Linked DNA regions of Homo sapiens: region 1 is linked to region 2. The links are contacts of gene promoters, found by promoter capture Hi-C in human tissues and cell types (Jung and others, 2019). All regions are on one chromosome and are shown on one strand. The core of a region is centred on a gene start or on the middle of the fragment in contact, and the rest is flanking DNA. Distances in the headings are between cores, read along the strand shown.

The links. Contacts are between HindIII fragments. The study calls those that stand out against the background at their distance.
Region 1: a fragment that was not itself captured here is called in contact with the fragment with the promoter of CRYBB1 in region 2 in 1 of the 25 tissues and cell types used here (thymus).

Annotation. Positions count from the first base shown.
Region 1 is chr22:26,661,780-26,668,935 of GRCh38, reverse strand. It overlaps MIAT (myocardial infarction associated transcript), which reads right to left. Exons shown (of 5, transcript NR_033320.3): 2 at 5,538-5,620; 3 at 1,999-3,405; 4 at 1,626-1,751; 5 at 1-778. Among named protein-coding and RNA genes, the nearest start is that of MIATNB, 7.5 kb to the left of the region's middle. RefSeq lists enhancers at 1-359, 360-943, 3,303-3,803, 6,872-7,156. The HindIII fragment of the contact is 5,066 bases long and covers 1-4,473 here.
Region 2 is chr22:26,613,534-26,620,556 of GRCh38, reverse strand. CRYBB1 (crystallin beta B1) reads left to right here and starts at 2,530. Exons shown (of 6, transcript NM_001887.4): 1 at 2,530-2,580; 2 at 4,219-4,417. The coding sequence starts at 4,238. It also overlaps a transcript of CRYBA4 not described here. RefSeq lists enhancers at 1,445-2,120, 2,799-3,476, 6,187-6,865. The HindIII fragment of the contact is 18,434 bases long and covers 1-7,023 here.

The DNA.
Region 1 (7,156 bases), core at 691-3,190, 49 kb before region 2:
ATTTCCCTAGCCTAAATCTTATCTCTTAAAGACCCTCTCTTTTCAGGATGGTGCACTCTCAGCCCCTCTGGCTGCCCCTCCCAGAGTTCAACAGCACAGGGGGAAGGCTCCAGCTCCTCCCAGATCCTGACTGTCTCCTCTTTGTAACCATCAGGGAGAGGAAAAGCATGGAAAAGCCCCACCAAGGAAGTCCCCCACAAAATGACAATTACGCACTGAGCAAATGGAGACAAAGGACTCCAGCCAGCGGCACCCGAGGAGCTGCATCTGCCCTCTGCCTGACAGCCCCTCCCCGACTCCCATCCTTGTTCCTGTCCCCATCCTGTAGGGTCCTTTGAGACCCAGCCTTGGGGAAAGTGTGGTCAGTGGGGACTTGGCCCAGGCCAGGCTCTGTCTGGTCACCGGCAGAAACGCGAGGAGGAATCAAGTTCACATGGGGCAGGAAAGGGCCCCCAGACCCAGACAATAGGGCCCAGCAGGCAGGGCCCGAGCAGGTGAGGAGGGAGTAGTGGGCTGCCAGGCCTCCCTCATACCCCTGGAGCTGTCCTCCAGAGCCAGATCAGTCATCTGCTGAGCATCAACCAGGAAGAGTTCCTATCCATGGGAGGCTCCATCCCAACAGGTGTGAAGAGGATGAGATCTTCAGGGAGTCACCCAGCGGGCTAGAAAACCACCGGAGTCTGACCGCTAAGTCACTGTGGCCAGAATCCAAGGTCACCCGAGGTCCAAAGAGAAGTCCAGGCCAGGAGTCCTGGAGATGCGGCCCAGATGGAGCCACCTGGGGGAGAAGACAGCGAGTGAGGATGAGGCCACAGCCTCCATCCCCAACTTCCCACATCCCCCCAGCCTAATTCTGCATCTGAGGGGACTCATGTTCAGAGATCCCCCCAGTCTCTCATGCCCCCAGCACACACACAGGGTGGAAGTGAGGGTTTTGGACATGAAACATTTTTAGAAGAAACTTAGGCCAGGCACAGTGACTCCCACCTGTAATCCCAGCACTTTGGGAGGCTGAGGAAGGAGGATCACTTGAGCCCAGGAGTTCGAGACCAGCCTGGGCAACATAATGAGACTCTGTCTCTACAAAAAATAAGCCAGGCATGGTAGCATGCACCTGTAGTCCCAGCTACCCAGGAGGCTGAGGTGGGAGGATGTATTGAGCCCTGGAGTTCAAGGCTGCAGTGAGCCGTGATCATAACACTGTACTCTAGCCTGGGCAACAGAGTGAGACCCTGTCTCTGAGAAAAAGGAAAAAAAAGTTGTCTAAAAAGAGGAAGCAATGAAAGCTGAGAATACCCACCAGGCAGGGTTAGCTCAGGGGACCAGAGGAAAAGCAGTAAAGGGAGCCCATAGCAAGCTCCAGGAGCATCATGGGCAGAGACAGGGCAAGGGTTTGAGGGGATGGGAAGGACTTTCAGAGGCCTTTGATGGCTTCAATTCATTTTACAACATTCCCACTGGGAGGATCTCTGCACACCACCACCCCCAACATACACACACACGCGCGCATACACACACATACACGCGCACACACATGCACGCATGCACACACACACAGGCATGCACACACATGTGCACACGCACACACACACACACACACACTGCTCCCAGGACGAGGAGCTCACCCCCTTGCCGAGACTGTAATAAAGCGTGTTCTGACATGAAGATCTGAGCAGATGGGATCATGTCTCTGGGTTCACCTCTGCGTCCCCAGCATCTGGCTCAGAGAAGTTGCTTGGTCCATGCCGGTGCTGAATGAAGGGACTTGCTAAATTCTCTGCTCGAGCTCACCCACAATGGTCTTGATTCCATCCCACCCACCCCCACCAAGACCACACAGAGCAAGCATTCCAGCCACCTGGCTCCCTGGCCATCTTCTCATGAGCAGGAGCGTTCTGGGCCTGAGGAGGGGGCACAGGTGGGAGGACAACCTACCCCCATGAAACCAAGCTCCATGTGACCTCCCTCCCTCCCTCCCCACATCCCTCTCAGGCTTACCTGGCAGCATCCAGCCGACACACAGGCAGCCCAGGCTCCCAGCTCCTTCCTTCCCCACACAGACCCCACAGGCCCATCCTGGAAGACAAAAGAGCCAACCACACCGCAGGAGAAAACTGCACCCAGGCCCCCTCCCCAGGCCCAGGCCTTGCCAGAACTCCCTGCTGAAGAAAGAAGGACCAGGAGCCAGGGAGGCTGGGCCCAGGCACCCCACCCTCCACCTCTCTTTATTCCACCCCAGAACATCCTTAAAAGGTGAGGGGAGAAGGGTTCCCAGGTTCCCTTCACTCACTCCCTGTTTCCCAACAACAGCAGAATGTGACCCAGGAGAAAGTAGGACAAACTCAGCAGCTTGGTGATAGCTGAATAGCAGCTGAACGGAGAGTCAGGAATCCAGAATTCTGATCCCAGCTCTGCTCCTGCCACACTGGGTGGCCCTGGAACCCTTCCTGCCTTGACATTCACTCAAGGTGCACGGTAATCACCCATTGTTTGAAGCAATGGATGGGAAATGGAAGGGACCCTTCTGCCCAGCCTCAGTTATTTTTCTGCTCCCCCTCCTTCTCCCCTGCCCTTTCCTGATGCCCCATGCACCAGAGGAAATTCGGGGAGCCAGAGGCTGGACTAGGACTCTTTTAAGACCACCCTGTGTCACCAGTCTGGAGAAGACCAGAGAATGACCACTAATCCTGACCTAGGACCATCTGCCAGGTTTTGTTTTTGGTAACAACTGTGCTGTCTTCATCAACTGGCAGACCTGAGTCAGGAGAGTCAGGGAGCTCTCTCAGCATATCTTCAGAGCTTGCTGTCAGCACCCGGGAGTGGGGGCACGAGTCCAGAACTGGAGATGAGCTCAGACACTTACACTGAGAAAAATGCATCTAAAGTCACAGTGTTAACTCTTCACTTAACTCTAAGGCCAAGGAGCCCTGTCCAAGGTTTATAAATATGATCACAAAGTGCTGAAACTGAGAAGAGAAGGGCTGGTTCACATCATCAGGGAGTCCCCAGCCTCCTTCTAATAGCAGTTCTACAAGTACACAAGATGAAGTCATTTAACTCAGCCTTCAAAAGTTCCAGACGGTAATGTTTGTGAAATACTAGCCCTAACGCCAAATGTGAAGTGTGAAAATCACCCTTTCTGGGACCCCACAAAATGGGGACAGGCTCTTTCTTTCTTCCATAGAGGTAGAAAAGAGAATGAGCTACATCACCCATTTCCCCTCCCACTTTGGCATTCTAGGATACTACACTTTCCTGCACAGACCAGAAGAGGGCAGGCTGGTAGGCTATGGGCTGGTAAGTTTAAATACTTATCTGCAAAGATGCTTCTCAGTGTGGTTGTGAACGTCCTGAAGAACCTGGAAATTCCCTTCTGTCTCCTCTGTCCCAGGAACTTGCTGCTCTCTGTAAATAGACCCTGGACTGCTCAGAGGAGCCTGGCTTGATCCACAGTGACCCTTTCCCCTCGTTCTGTGGACCTAGAGTCATGATATTAATAAGGTGATGGAGGTTTCAAGGGACCTTTAGCTGACACCGTCTTAGAGGGTACAAAGGAAGGTATGGGCTTTGGGGCTAGAGAAACCTGGAGGAAACTGTGGCTCTCTCACTCCTACGTACTCAATGTGTGACTCAAAGTTAATTGTTTTTCTTTCTTTCTTTCTTTCTTTCTTTCTTTCTTTCTTTCTTTTTTTCTGGAGACAGGATCTCACTCTGTCACCCAGGCTGGAGTGCAGTGGCATGATCTCGGCTCACTGCAACCTCTGCCTCCTGGGTTCAAGTGATTCCCCTGCCTAAGCCTCCTAAGTAGCTGAGATTACAGATGTGTGCCACCACGCCCGGCTAACTTATTTTTTTTTTAGTAGTAGAGACGGGGTTTCACCATGTTGGCCAGACTGGTCTTGAACTCCTAACCTCAGGCAGTCCGCTGGCCTCAGCCTTCCAAAGTGCTGGGATTACAGGCATGAGCCACCACACCTGTCCAAAGTTAATGATTTTCAAAGCTTAGCCAGTGCCTGGCACACAGTACATGTTCCAAAAATTATTTTCACCACTCAATGATTTAAACTTTAAGTAAATCTGTGTGTGATATTTATGTTCCAGAAATATAAGCCATATTTATCCTGTAGCATTATATGTATATACCACAGTTAGGCAGCACTGATCAAATTAAAATCCCCTATCTTGATGAATGGAAAAGCAAAGTCTGGCTTATCCACATAAGGGAATCTACTCATCAATAAAAAGGAACAAACTATTAGTACATACTACAACATGGATGAACCTTACAAACATCATGCTGAGGGAAAGAAGCTAGGCTCAACAGAACACATATTGTATGATCTCATTTATACAAAATATCCAGAAAAGGAAAATCTACCGAGATGAGAAATAGATTTGTGGTTCCTGGGGTTATGGATGGGATGTGGATGAACAGTAAATGGGTATGAGAGATCTTACTGGGGTAACCGAACTGTTCCAAAACTGATTTATGGTGAAGGTTGTACAACTTGGTACATTTATTAAAAATCATTGAATGGGTGAGTTATATGACTTTTAAACTATGCCTCAATAAAATTGGATAGAACAGGAATTGAACTACTGAGACATGCAACAGGAAGTATGAGCCTCAGCTGGGCGCAGTGGCTCACACCTATAGTCCCAGCACTTTGGGAGGCCGAGGCGACCACTCGAGGTCAGGAGTTCGAGACCAGCCTGGCCAACACGGCAAAGCCCCATCTCTACTAAAAATATAAAAATCAGCCGGGTGTGGTGGTGCACACCTGTAATCCCAGCTACTCGGGAGACTGAGGCAGGAGAATCACTTGAACCCAGCAGGCGGAGGTTGCAGTGAGCCGAGATGGCTCCACTGCACTGCAGCCCAAACAGCAGAGCGAGATCTTGTCTCAAAAAAAAAAAAAAAAAAAAAAAAGCTGAACACAGAAGCTTCCATATATATGGAACATTAAAAAAAAAAAAGAATCCAATCTACTTCTGAGAAAGCAGGTCAGTGGTTTCCTGGGACTGGGGCTGGGACTGGGGCTGAGAGGGGATTGGCTGGGAGGGAATACAGGGGAACATTTTAGAACGATGAAAATGTTCTACATCCTGATTGTGGCAATGGTTACACAGGTGTATACCTTTGTCAAAACACATTGAAATGTGTGCTTTAAACGGGTGCATTTCCTTGTATGTAAATTATACCTCAATAAAGTTATTTTTGTAAAACTCATTTGTATGTGATGAAAGAGGACTGGAACTAAAAAGTGCCAGATCAAAGGCCGCACAAAGAACCAGTTGTGAGCACCAGGGCCTCATCATCTCAGCTTTCACTAGGCCACACAGACCACCCACTTCAAGCCAAGGTCAGTCGGGAAAGCCACGATTGGGGAACTGGAACCCAGAGGGTCATCAGAAGTCTCTCCCACCTTAAGATTCAGGAGGTCTCAGGACATACGGATTTCGTGATGGATCTGATCTCAAAGCATTAAGCTGGTCTCTACCATCCCCAGTGGACACAGGAAGAGAGGGAGGATCACCTTGGTTACCCCTGTGATGCCGACGGGGTCATGGTGGCCACATGAACGTGTCTGGAACCACATGGGTGGACAGATGCCTCCAACTGTCATCAAGAGAAAAAGAGACAGCAGTGAGAGAATAAATACATACCCATGGGTACAGTGGAGAATAGATGCTAAGGTCCTGTTTCAAATCACAGCGTTTCCCAAAACTGATCTCCTTGGATGCAGATCAAAAGCAAAACAGGAAACAAGGAGGTATTTTGATCAGGCCAGTGTCAACCAATACATCCTAACATGGGTTTTATGGCATGGATTCCTGTGCTGCTCTGCCACCGGCAAACTGTGTGACCTTGACCAAGTCCTTTACCACAGTGAACCTCAGTCTTCTCATCCACAAACTAAGGATAATAACAGTGCCCACCTCACAGGGTTGTCATGAGGATCAAATGAGAAGATGAATGAGACTTAGCTTGAATTCTACCATTTTCTTACATCATTATTATTATTATCACTGACCACACAGTTCATTAACACTACCCATGAGATATTCATTTTTCCCGCTAAACAGCATGTACTGTTCTTAGTAATGGATGGGCAGCTGCCAGGAAAACATACATTTGTTGCATTTTAGAATCCCTCTGGGTTTTTGGTCTTTTTCCCTGACTCTGGAATAAAATGACTACTCGGAGATCTGAGACGTACAAGAGATGTTGGCCCAAATTGCCTTGGATGAGCCAGCACCCAGAGATAACGGAAGCTCCAGAGAATAATGAAAATGTGCCACGCGCCTCGCAGGAGACATGCTGGGGGAAGCAGATGCTTCTGCAGAGGAGAATTAAAGCGCTGTTTCTTTACGAATTCAAACACAATGTCCACAAAAGAGGAGATTCAGAATTCAAATCTCCTTCAAACATGGGAACCCCTGCAGTGGAGAGAGAGGAAAGAAAACCAAGAAGAAGGAAAAGAAAGCTAAACTAACACTTATTAAGAACAGATGCTAATTGGGAGTGTCTTTATCTACATGGCAAAACAAGCTGGGTTTTATTATCCCCACTTTACAGATGAGGAAACTGAGGTTCAGTTAGAAAATAAGGCAACCAGGATTCTAAACAGGCCTCTTGGACCCCAAAGGGGCAGAGGGTGTATTCAAATAGGGGCAGGGACTGGGCGCAGTGGCTCACACCATAATCCCAGCACTTTGAGAAGCAGAGGCAGGAGAATTGCTTGAGGCCAGGAGTTCACGATCAGCCTGGGTAACAGATCAAGGCTCTGCCTCTACAAAAAATTCAAAAATTAGCTGGGCGTGGTTATGTGTACCTGTGCCTGTGGCTATTTGGGAGGCTTCAACAGGAGGACCGCTTTAACCCAGGAGGTAGAGGCTGCAGTGAACCGCGATTGCTCCACTGCATTCCAGCCTGGGTGACAGAGCAGATCCATGTATATGTGTGTGTGTGTATATATATATATATATATATATATATATATATATATATATATATGGATCTATATAGATCCATATATATATGGATTAAATGATAAAAGATCCAAGGAAGGTATATGTAAACTGCAAACTCGATGGCCATCTGCATTACTATTACTGTGAGAAAACTGGCCCATGATTGATAAATCATCTCTGT
Region 2 (7,023 bases), core at 1,281-3,780:
GGAATGCATGACTTTGATGAAGGGTTGGCATGAAAATGAAAGGTTAACAATGCACCCTCTACAGCCAGACTGCCTGGGTTTGCATCCCACTGGTGCTGGCTGGGTAACTTTTAAGCATGTTACTTACGCACTCTGAGCCTCAGTTTACTTGTGTGTAAAATGGGTGTAACAAGGTAAGTTGGGATTAGTCTAAGAAACAGGGGGATTGTGAGGATAAATGTGAATAGCACATGAACAGCAGCTGGAATTGCTCCTGCAACATAAAAAATATTGTGGTATTTCCATCATCTTCATCATCACCATTGCTAATAAGAAAGATGATTATTATTAATTGTTGATCAAAAAGCAGGGGTGCATAGTTTTTAAGAGCCTGGGTTCATGAGTAAAGAAGATGTGAGTTCCAATTTTATCTTACATTTCCATTTTTATGAGAAAGTGGCTGAGAGAGAGGAAGGAAAGGGAGTTGCTTCAGTTTCCTTATCCGTAATTGGGGTTAATCCCAGAGACTTCATCCTTATACTGAGGAGTACAGGACAATGCAAAAAAAAAAAAAGAAAAGAAAAAAAGAAAAGAAAATAAATTGGCTCCATAAGACAGGGCAAAAAAGAAAAAGATATAATGAAGGATACAATAATAATAATAAATGCTCAGAGTGGAGCCACCAACATGGTGGGCCATCCCCCTTCTCTGCCCCCACCCTCTGGCAGACAGCCCATTCCTGGGGCTTTAGGGGGGGCACGGAACTGCCCCAGATGACCTGGCTTTGAAGCCTAGACTGGTGGGTGGGCCCTCACCACAGGCGTCTTGGCCCCAGTTCCAGTGGCTACCCCATCTTGCAGTTCCTGCCCACACCCCACCCACCAAGTCTTGGCCCAGGATGAAAGGCCAAGGAGAGGCTAGGAAGCGAGGGGGTGCTGGGTGGTGGAGGGACAGAGGCAAAGCTGGCTCCAGGCCAGGGAGAGTTCAAGACAGAGCTGGGCTCCACGGGGAGCCTAGAACCCCGAAAAAGAAGAGACAGGAGCCTATCCAGATGCCCCCGCAATATACCCTGCCTGGGACTGGGGAGCCGACTGCAGGTGACCTAGCTGAGCAGCTCCCCAGGCTCCTTCTGACCCCAGCTGTACTGTGAGTTCCCGCCATGTGACTATGTTGAAGTCATTTGTTCCACCTGGGCCTCGGTTTCTCCATTTGTGAAATGGGAGGATTGGGCCCTGTGATTTCTGGCGTCTGTTCCTCCGTCCTGAGGCTTGATCACCCCAACTTGACCTCTGTCTCTCCGTCTCTCGCTCCTTCACTGTCCATGTCCCCTGTGCCTCTCTGTGTCTCTGTCTCCACCTCTCTCTTTGTCTGTTACTTCTATCTGCCTCCTTACTTCTCTCTCCTTGCCTTGGTTTCCCTATCTCCTCCGTACCCTACCTTCTGTTCCGATCCATTGGAACCACCATTGAGTCACCAGTTATTGACTGAGAACCCATGATGTGCCAAGCTCTACCTAGCCAGGCCCAGCTAGGTGCTGGGGCCAGTGGTGAACAAGATGTGGTGGGCATCTGGGGCTTGCCAGGGCAGGAGGCTCTGGGACAGGCAGTCATATTTCTGGCCACCAGCACTGTCCTCCAGGTCAGATAACGTGGCCTGGGTAGAGGCGGGGAACTGGGGTGGCGAGAGGGATCACTGTCGATAGGTCAGGAAAGGATGGGGCCCAATGTGGGGAAAAGAAAAAGACCCAGGTCTCCGATATCCAACCCAGCTGAGCACAGTGCGACTCTCCCATTCCCACCCCAACCTACAAAGAGGAAGTCAGGCCAGGGGGCCTCAGGCCAAGGTCAAGGCTGGACAGCAGGAGAAGAAAGCACACAGGCCCAGAGCTGGCTGGCCTGGGCTGGCTCTGACCTCTCTGTGCCTTCACTTTCCTCTTCTGTGAAATGGGCATAATGAAAGTACCAAATAAGGCAGATTGTCCCGGGGACTGACCGAGATAACACGGGTTCGGCACACAGTAAGCACTCCGTAAAAAAGGCTGTCCATATCAAACCCACATCTGCCTTTACAAAACGCTTCTGTGCTCATTGTCACCTTCTTTTCTATATGGCATCCAACAGGGACACGTGCCCACCTTATAATTGCAGACACAGAGGCCCCCCTAGGGGTAGAGACCTACCAAAAGCCACACAGCGCGCAGTGGCTGAGTCAGGATTCAAACTCTGGTCTCCTGCCTCCCAGGGTCTCCCCTTTTCCCTGCCCCATGTTGGCAGCCAGCAGGGACCCTTTTGGGGGCCCATCCCTGGCTGGGGTTGTTGAGAAAGGAGTCAGGGTAGGGTTGGAAGGTGAAGCTGCTGTGGCCAGGGTTTCTGCTGTGTGTGCTGGTCTCACAAAGGAAAGTGCTGCTGTCTGCAGTGATCCAGGCGAGGTCAGGGCCCCAGTCCCCCACTCCCTGCCCAGGCCTGCTGAGCCAGCTTCCCCTTTGTGCCACAGACTATAGGGCCTGATGTCTGCCAGACTATAAAATGGGGGGTCGGACTCTAGTCACCCATAGCACCTGCCCGCCTGCCTGTCCTCCAGCAGGAAGTAGCAAGTCCCCAGGTAAGAGGGAACCCACAGCCCAGCTGAGAGCTGAAGGGGAGGGGAAGAGAAAAGGGAGACAGAGAGAGGGAGGCAGAGATAGCAGTGCCATGAGAGTCAGAGAGCAGGGCCATGGAGATAAAGACGGAAGTGGAGAGAGGAAGAAAGGGAGGGAGAGGGAGAGGGGAGAGAGTGAGAAAAGACAGAAATAGAGAGAGAAGTAAATATAATTAAAAAGGACAGATAGAGAGATAAGCAAAGATACAATGAGGGAGAGATAGTGGGGGAGAGAGGAACAGAGAGGGAGAGAAACAGACAGGCAGATAGGCAGAAAGAGGGAGAGAAGTAAGAAACAGATAGAGAGGCAAAGACAGGGAAGAGAGGAGGAACAGAGGGAGAGGGTGAAGCAGGGAGAGAGAGAGAATGAGAATATCTCCAGGAAGGCATGAGTCCAGCTGCCAGCCCTGGGGGAGTGTTTAAAGCCACAGATGTGGTCCAGATGTCTGGCCTCACCCCTGGTGAACAGGGGGCACCCCAGAATATGCACAGCCTTCCTGGAGGAGGCTGGGGGAGGGATGTGCTTATCCCAACTAGCTCCGCCTTACAGAATGTGTTCGGGAATCAGCTTGACCAGAGGGTCTTAATCTGTGCTAGCAGGGGGTCCTCAAATCCCTTAACATTGTCTCCAAAGTTAAAGAGAGCATTATTTTTGTCCGGGGACAAAGTTGAGGTATTCATCAAACATTCAAAGGAGTCCACGACCCCAAAGCAACAAGGAACCACTGGAATTGACCAAAGCCCTCTCCACCCAAAGCCTACCCAGCCCCAGTCCTCATTTTCAGAACCCTCCACATGCAGTAAATACATCCTCTTGGGTCCTCCCATAAGCCTCAGTCCCCGGCCTGTATTTGCACCCATACACCAACCCCTCAGAGGAAGCAGACGGGGAAAGGAGCTGGGAGCATGCATTCATTCATTCTCTGAACAAATGTTAATTGGGCATCTCCTATGTGCCAGGTGCAGAGCAAGTGTTAGGGATGGACGGTGAATAAATCAGATTAAGCAAATGGCAGAATACTTTAAAAGCCCAGTTGCTGGCTCCATTTCCTTGAGTTGAAATCAGAGCCCTACCACTTAGTAGCTGTTTGGGCCTGAGCTGGGCCCCTTCCTTCTCCAGCCCCCTGCTGCTCAGAGGGGATCATGATAGCAGCTACTCCATCGGGTGAGGTTCATGGTCAGATGGGTTAATTAATGTATGTCACAGTGCCTGGCACACCTTAAGTACTCCCAAATGGGACTTCTTGTTATTAGTCTAGGGAGGCAAATTGGAGTTGCACAAGCAAATCAGTGTGATAAGCAGTGTGGAAAATTGCAGGGGGCTAAGGAAGGACCTAGCGGGGTAATGGAGGGTGGAACAGCTAGTGGAGGGAACCGCATGGTCAAAAGCCTGGAGGAAGGATATATGTGGGATGAGTGGCCCCCAGACGGGAAGGTCTTGGCTGGGAAGTAGGGATGAAAGAAAAACTTCCAGGCTTAACCGTTTCAGAAGGAGATAGAGAGGAAACGAGCTCCAAGGAGGCTGAAAGCACAGGATGTGGGGCTATGAGGGCAGGAGGCAGTTTGGGGGTGTCATCCCTGAAGGCCAGAGTTTCTTTACAGACTTTTGCAGGCGGGAACCATGTCTCAGGCTGCAAAGGCCTCGGCCTCGGCCACAGTGGCGGTGAACCCAGGGCCTGACACCAAGGGGAAGGGGGCCCCACCTGCAGGAACATCCCCTAGTCCCGGCACTACCCTGGCCCCAACAACCGTGCCTATTACCAGCGCCAAGGCGGCGGAACTGCCTCCTGGGAACTACAGGGTAAGGACCTGGGGGTGCAGTGGCTGGGTGCCATGCCTTCTTTCCTTCCTTCCCTCCTCCTCCTTCTTCTCCTCCTCCTCTTCCTCTTTCACCTCTTACTCCTCCGCACCTCTTTCTCCTCCTTTTTCTTGGCTTATTTTCTCTCCTTTCTATTTACTCTCCCTTTTCTTCTTCTCCACCTCCCCAGACTCTTATCCTCTGTCCCTATTCTCTTTTTCCCTCACCTTGGCCTCCTCCTCCCTCCTCCTTCTGGGACACAAGTGTGGCCCAGCCAATCTGGGAGCCCATAAAATAGCCAGGGGTTCTGACACACTTGGAGAAAGTGGGGCCGGGCGCAGTGGCTCATGCCTGTAATCCCAGCACTTTGGGAGGCCGAGGCAGGTGGATCACCTGAGGTCAGGAGTTCGAGACCAGCCTGGCCAACATGGTGAAACCCTGTCTCTACTAAAAATACAAAAATTAGCCAGGCGTAGTGGTGGGCGCCTGTAATCCCAGCTACTTGGGAGGCTGAGGCAGGAGAATCACTTGAACCCAGGAGGCGGAGGTTGCAGTGAGCTGAGATCATGCCACTGCACTCCAGCCTGGGCAACAGAGGGAGACTCCATCAAAAAAAAAAAGAAAAGAATAGAAAGAAAAAGGGGACCTATAGTTGAGTTGTGCAATAACAACAACCAAACCATACCGCTTCACAGCTGAAGGGACACCTGGCAATCAGGCTACACCTGCACACGCACATGCTTAGAGTTTATCGAAAGCAAGAAAAAAAAAGAAGAAAAGGAAGTGGGCTGGCTTAGCAGCAGGGAACCAGCTGTCCTTGGAGGCTCACTGGGGCAGCAGGATGGCCTCAGACCCTCAAAATTGCTCGAGGTGGTCTGGGCTGAAAGGCATCCTGTGGAGCAAGGTGTCCAGTCCCCTGGGATTTGGTTTGGTGTGGTTTCAACCTCAGGTCACAGAAGTAGGCCATTTTGCAACCCCTAGTTCATGACACGCTCTCATGTGGTCAGTGCGTGGCAGGTTTTTATTTATGTACCTATTTAATCATTAGTTTTATTTAATTTCTAATAATGCAATATGCACCTACAAACCCACCACCCATATAAAAGCCAGGACTTGGTTAAAAACTTTCTACCTAACTCTAAGGTGTCTCCCTTGAGTCCATCATTTTCCTCCCCAACTCCAGGAAATACTGTCCTATCCTCAACCTGTGTCTGTAATCTGCTTGCTTGCTTTTGTATACAATTTTATGCATTATTCCTTTAAAAATGTATACACACATACACATGTATATTTATTTACTTGTTTTATTTATTCATTTATTTTGAGACCGAATTATGAGACGGGTTTTGCCATATTATCCAGGCTGGTCTCGAACTCCTAGCCTCCGCCTCCCCAAGTGCTGGAATTATAGGTGTGAGCCACCGCAACTGGCCGATTTACTTGTTTTTAATTTATTGAAATATGCAATGTGATTATTCTGGGCTTTTCTTTGTACTTTTCACTTACTATGAGATCCCTAATATCCATCCATATTGTTGCGCATGACTGCCGGCCATTCATTCTGGCTGCTGCCTGATATTTCAGAGCGTGACCATCTCTTTCCTGCTAAGCACGATTTCAGTGGTTGCTAGCTTTGCTCTCGTGAACAGCATGGCTTGGACGTTCTTATCCCTGTCTCCTGGTATCGGGGAACCTGCCCCGATATTCACATAGATTCTTTTCTATTTTTCCTAAGCGTCGGCCAGCTTGAGAAATAAAGGGACAGAGTACAAAAGAGAAAAATTGTAAAGCTGGGCGTCCGGGGGAGACATCACATGTCAGTAGGTTCCGTGATGCCCCACAAGCTGCAAAAACCAGCAAGTTTTTATTAGGGAGTTTCAAAAGGGGAGGGAGTGTGAGAATAGGTGTGGGTCACAGACATCAAGTACTTTACAAGGTAATAGAATATCACAGGGCAAGTGGAGGCAGGGAGAGATCACAGGATCACAGGACCGGGGCAAAATTAAAATTGCTAATGAAGTTTTGGGCACCATTGTCATTGATAACATCTTATCAGGAGACAGGGTTTTGAGATCAACCGGTCTGGCCAAAATTTATTAGGCAGGAATTTCCTCTTCCTAATAAGCCTGGGAGAGCTATGGGAGACTGGAGTCTATCTCATCTCTGCAGCGTCGACCATAAGAGACGACCACGCCCAGGGGGGCCAGTTTAGAGACCTAACCCCAGGTGCGCATTCTCTTTCTCAGGGATGTTCCATGCTGAGAAAAAGAATTCAGCGATATTTCTCCCATTTGCTTTTGAAAGAAGAGAAATATGGCTCTGTTCTGCCCGGCTCACTGGCGGTCAGAGTTTAAGGTTATCTCTCTTATTCCCTGAACAATTGCTGTTATCCTGTTCTTTTTTAAGGTGCCCACATTTCATATTGCTCAAACACACATGCTGTACAATTTGTGCAGTTAATGCAATTATCACACGGTCCTGAGGCGACATACATCCTCCTCAGCTGACAGGATTAAGAGATTAAAGTAAAGACAGGCATAGGAAAGCACAAGGGTATTGATTGGGGAAGTGATAAGTGTCCATGAAATCTTTACAATTTATGTTTACAG